2 separate regions of the Homo sapiens genome follow, and region 2 is linked to region 1. The links are contacts of gene promoters, found by promoter capture Hi-C in human tissues and cell types (Jung and others, 2019). All regions are on one chromosome and are shown on one strand. Each heading gives the region's core, a stretch centred on a gene start or on the middle of the fragment in contact. The rest is flanking DNA. Distances are from core to core; before and after follow the strand shown. Region 1 holds the start of CST9L (cystatin 9 like). Region 2 has its middle 16 kb from the start of CST8.

The links. Contacts are between HindIII fragments. The study calls those that stand out against the background at their distance.
Region 2: a fragment that was not itself captured here is called in contact with the fragment with the promoter of CST9L in region 1 in 1 of the 25 tissues and cell types used here (dorsolateral prefrontal cortex).

The regions. Positions count from the first base shown.
Region 1 is chr20:23,566,982-23,569,734 of GRCh38, reverse strand. CST9L (cystatin 9 like) reads left to right here and starts at 1,251. Exons shown (of 3, transcript NM_080610.3): 1 at 1,251-1,524. The coding sequence starts at 1,285. The HindIII fragment of the contact is 10,231 bases long and covers 1-2,753 here.
Region 2 is chr20:23,506,174-23,508,929 of GRCh38, reverse strand. It overlaps a transcript of CST8 not described here. Among named protein-coding and RNA genes, the nearest start is that of CST8, 16 kb to the right of the region's middle. The HindIII fragment of the contact is 4,670 bases long and covers 1-2,756 here.

The DNA of each region.
Region 1 (2,753 bases), core at 2-2,501:
TAGTGTGGACAGATGCAGTGATGCTCTTCCCAGGCCTGGCCCTGCTGTGATCTGGGAACATGGTATGGGACACAGTCAGAACAGTTCTTGTAGAATCAGTCTCCCTGACTTGGGACTGAACTTTCTATTCTGTTATCTGGCAACAATGCTAGGTTCTTGCCTATATTGCAGCACCATAGTCTTCTCAGCCAAACTCAAAGCTCTCACTTTTGCATACTTCACCTGTCCTGCACTATTTAATGTTCATTCTTACAGCAACAAAATATTATTATTTCCTCTTTCAGGTTAGTTATTGCCAGGAAATTGATTTAAAAGTAACCACCTAGTATCACCTAAGTGCTGGCAAAATAGCTCACTCTAGAACACCAAGAAGGATGGTCAGATGGAGACAAAAATGATCAAGGGGCTGAAGAATGGTCCAACCTCTATCTCACTGAGGCAGAAACATGTGATCTCCCAGAGAAGTGTTTAAAAATTTGGTCTAGAATGATATTCCAGTCTAATAAAACATGAGTGTGTGTGGTGGGGCTGCAGATGTAGGGCGGTGGGCCCTGTAGAAACCTTGGCTCTGGCTCAGCTGGAACCAGGGCTGACAAGGTTTAGAAATGCAAGCAGGGCTGGGCTGGGCATGACCAGGCTGGGGCCTCAGGACTTGGGTCTCTGTCTTTCCTGCCCTTTTCTCACAATACTCATTGTCCATCCCAGGTCAAAATGGTTGATAAAAATTGCCATTTATTTTTTTCATTTTTTCCCTTGGTTCACAGAGTACAACTGTTGAGGTATTATACAACAAAAGAACAAACTGATATCTTAGTTATTTTTCTGAACAACGGAGATCCTCTCTTCGACGGGGTGAAGGAGGGGAGAGTGAGAGTCGAGATGTCCCCAGGTCTTATCTCAGTTCGCTGTGGGAGGCGAAGGCACAGAATCATCCAAGGACACCAAGCACCTGAGGACAACCAGAACCTGTGGGTTCTGAAGGAGCAGCCTTCAAAGCTAGTGGCAGAGGGTAGCTCCCCTCCTGCCTGTGGCTTGTGCTGGCCTAGAGAGTATAGGGCAGAAGGATGGCAGATGAGTGACTCCACATCCAGAGCTGCCTCCCTTTAATCCAGGATCCTGTCCTTCCTGTCCTGTAGGAGTGCCTGTTGCCAGTGTGGGGTGAGACAAGTTTGTCCCACAGGGCTGTCTGAGCAGATAAGATTAAGGGCTGGGTCTGTGCTCAATTAACTCCTGTGGGCACGGGGGCTGGGAAGAGCAAAGTCAGCGGTGCCTACAGTCAGCACCATGCTGGGCCTGCCGTGGAAGGGAGGTCTGTCCTGGGCGCTGCTGCTGCTTCTCTTAGGCTCCCAGATCCTGCTGATCTATGCCTGGCATTTCCACGAGCAAAGGGACTGTGATGAACACAATGTCATGGCTCGTTACCTCCCTGCCACAGTGGAGTTTGCTGTCCACACATTCAACCAACAGAGCAAGGACTACTATGCCTACAGACTGGGGCACATCTTGAATTCCTGGAAGGAGCAGGTTGGTGACCACGTACCCTCCTGCCCTGGCATCTGGCATGTGCTGCTCAGTGAAAAATGGGAGTGGGGTGGGGACAGGGGGTCTTATTGAAGAGTCTTGTTCACCAGTTGTAGTCCATACTTAAGAAAATACAAGGTAGTTTAGTTAGTTTTTGATTTTGAAAACATCTAAGTTAGAAATTTCAAATAATTTGATCCTAATCAACTCTCATGAAAAACATATTGTTTAATCTCCATCTTTTTATGACATTATTTAACTGAAGAATGACTTCAAAATGAGGACTACCAAGAAAATGAAGATACGGAATAAGGAAAAGGGCTGAACAGAAAATGTGAATAGAGAGAAATTGAGAAATACTTCCAAAAAATGTAATAAAAAAGAGATAATTTAAAAAATGAAAATTAAAAAAGAGAACAGTAAGGGTTCAGGAGCAATAAGAAACCCCCACCAGTCCCAAAAGACCTCTGGGTGGTCAGTTCCTCTTTGCTGATTTCCAACTTCTCTGAGCTCCTTGGTGTGTCTGCACTTAATAAACTGAAGACTGTTTCACACTCTTCCTCAGACCACAGGTCTTAATCCTAAATGTTCTCCTTTTAATGAAGTCACTACAGAATGCAATCAGGAATGCACAGTTCATCTGTGCTGTAGGCATGAACAATGAAAATAGTCACCAAGTTGAGGACTTTTTTTTTTTTTTTTTTTTGAGATGGAATCTTGCTCTGTCACCCAGGCTAGAGTACAGTGGCGTCATCTCCGCTCACTGCAAGATCCGCCTCCCAGGTTCAAGTGATTCTCCTGCCTCAGCCTCCCAAATAACTGGGATTACAGGCACCCGCCAGATGCCTGGTTAATTTTTTGTATTTTTAGTAGAGACAGGGTTTCACTATGTTGGCCAGGCTGGTCTTGAACTCCTGACCTCATGATCTGCCCACCTCGGCCTCCCAAAGTGCTGGGATTACAGGCATGAGCCACTGCACCCAGCTAAGTTGAGGACTTCTAGTTGGGTAGAGAGGCAAAAATGCTCTTCCTACCTCATTACTGAAACCTTGCAAGAAGAGCAAAAGGACCCCAACCCTGCACCAAGCTTCAGCCTCTGGAAAGACCCTGTGCAAGGCCCTGGCTGGTTCTCTGACCCCTGCTCTCTGGGCTGGAGCCTGCCACGTGGGTTCCTGGATGTGACAATTCCAGAGTCAGTTTTGGAGTTGGGGAAATGGACGGATAGGGAGAAA
Region 2 (2,756 bases), core at 55-2,554, 61 kb after region 1:
ACAATGGTGTGTGCGTGCATGTGTGTGTGTGAGAGAGAGAGGAGTTTCTGAAAACGGGGTACTGACCCCAGGATGGGGATGCTTCCTGTGTGATTGGGGTCAGGGTGTAGGAGCAGAGGAGGGCAGAAGGCCTTGTGTGGAGAGCATCTAACAGCTCTGGGCAGGGTGGGAGCACAAAGGCACTGTCAGCCATCACCACCACCAGCAGTGCTGCCAGGTCCGCACAGGAGGCTGTCCAGACGCTGAAGTCACCTCTCCCCTACTGGAGGCCTGACACCAGTCCCTCCATGGGAGAGAGCAGATGCTTAGGTGGGCCTGAAGAGCGGCTCCCGTTCACCCTGTGGGAGGTTGATGGCATTGAGTTGACCCAGCCCCAGTACATCCAGCTGAAGCTTGTGAACTCGGCACAAGTTTATTTTTGTTACTTCTCTTTGGTCTATGAAGAAAAAAACAGCTAATTTTGAGGGTGAGAAAAATGCACCAAGTAATGACAGAGATAGTGTGAGTTTTGCTTTAAATCTATTTTATGGCCCTTTGATTATGACAAAAAAAAAAGAATTATCTGGCTGTGGTTTTGTGACAATAATTATACAGTGGGCACTGACTGAGCTAGAGGATGCTGGAGGCGGATGAGGTCGTTTTGACCCTTCCCCCCTTAGTTTCCCATCTCATCCCCAGTCCTGCCAGGAAATTGGAGACAAATTCCACAGGGTATCTGAGGAGAGGGAACAGAGGGATATTTGCAAAGGAAAACCAACAACGGAGGGTAAAGGACCCACAGTCAGTGAAAGGGGCACGTGCACCATCCCTAGACCCCACGGGTGAAGGATGCAGTGGTGGCCAAGCCCAGTGTGTTAGTTTCCCACGGCTGCTGAACAAATACCACCGCCTTGGCAGCTGACAGCACAAGTTTGTGATCCTACAGCTCTGAAAGTCAGAGTCAGGACGGGCTCACTGGGCTCTGGACAGTGTGGGGGTGGGGGGGGGGGGTGCTGCATTCTTCCAGACGCTCTAGGAAAGAACCCATTTCCTTGCCTTTCCTGGCTCCTAGAGGCTGCCCACAGTCCTTGCCTCATGGCCTTCTGTCTTTCAAGCCTGCAGTGAGTGGAGTTCTTCTCATATTGAATCACTTCAGCTCTGACTCCCCTACCATTCTACCATCTTTTAAGGAATTTGGGCTTATCTGGATAATCCAGATAATCTTCCTATTTTAAGGTCAGCCTATTAGCACCCTTAACTCCCTCTGCAACCTGAACTTCCCCTTACCAGCTTGCATAATATATCCACAGATTTCAGGGCTCAGGATGTACACATCTCTGGAAGCATTGCTCTGCCTGCCACACGCACTAGGGGTTGCTGTAGGTGGCGGGGAGGGACTGCCCAGCAGGAGCGCTGGCCCCTGGCGGAAGAATGCAGCTGCTGTTAAGTGGGTTCCAGCAACCAGTAAGAAATATCCCAACACTGGCTCCAGCTGCGCTCATATTTCCGCATGCTCCCATTCCCCAAAATTAGCCAAATGCAGCCATCAGTGGAAGGGCTAGGGAGCCTGTTAATGGAGTCCAACAATGGCAGACTCCCAGGACCCAGAGCTGCCTGTCAGTGAGAACAATGAAGCCTAACACCAGAGTGGAAATGAATATAGAATTTATTATAGATATGTATTAAATATATATATATACTCTAAATATATATTTACACACATATACACGTATGCCTACATATGATTCTGGAGTTCAGAAGGATGTAGCACAAATATGAAACATCTACTAAAAATGAAATTTTTAATTCACCTAAAGATACAAAAGTAGAAAGACCAATTGGGAGTTTATTACAGGTGGGAGTGAAATGTATTCAAAGGAAAGAATAAACTCCCTCAACAGAGTAAGTAAAAATACTGGGACATGTGTGAACAAGGCATGTGCATGCAGTTACCCAAGCTCCAAGAACTGCCAACCTAATGTTTATGGTGTTCAAGGTTTAGACCATAGATGAAAGCTCCAAGAGCCAGGGCACCCCAAACCTTAACGAGTCACATCGGGGCAGGGGGAGGAGAACTTCTCTTCGCCAATGAGACAGTTCCCCTAAATCCTCAATGAAACAAGTTCTTCTTGGAGCTGATGTGGCTGAGAACTCTTGGGACCCTGTGTTGATGGCACTAAAAGAGAAAGGAAAGAAAAGCCAGAGGTAAGACTCAGGAGTTATGAAGGGACCATTTCCCTGGCTATATATGATAGGTAGTCAGAACTTTAGCATGTAGGATTTGTAAATTATCTTTTATTTTTTTATTTTTTGCTACACTATTATGTGTTGTCTTACAGAAAAAAAAAATCTGTGTGATACCAAGATGCTGTTTTAGTGCAGAATATCAGGGATTTCTGAAGAATATGCATAGACAAAAGGAGGAGGTGTCTTGAAATTCAGAACATGGGGTATAGAAAGTTCTAAAATCCTATAACCATGGAATCCTCATAAGCTTCAGGAATGGGGAATGGGACTTCTTCAAACCATGCTTTTCTATAAAACTGGTAGGTCCCAAAAGAAAGCGAAGCTGTGGACCTCGGTCACTGTCCACACACCTACAGGCAAGCCTGCACCTGAAGGAGGAGTCTAGGACCCCCACAGCACCCACCCTCACCATGTCTGTGTTGGTGTCCTCGCATAGGCATGCTGTGTTTCCCGGTGTGTCCGTCTTGTTTCCCAGTGAGCCCTAAGCCCCTTGATTTGCCATCAAAGGACTTAATGAGTATTTCACTTAA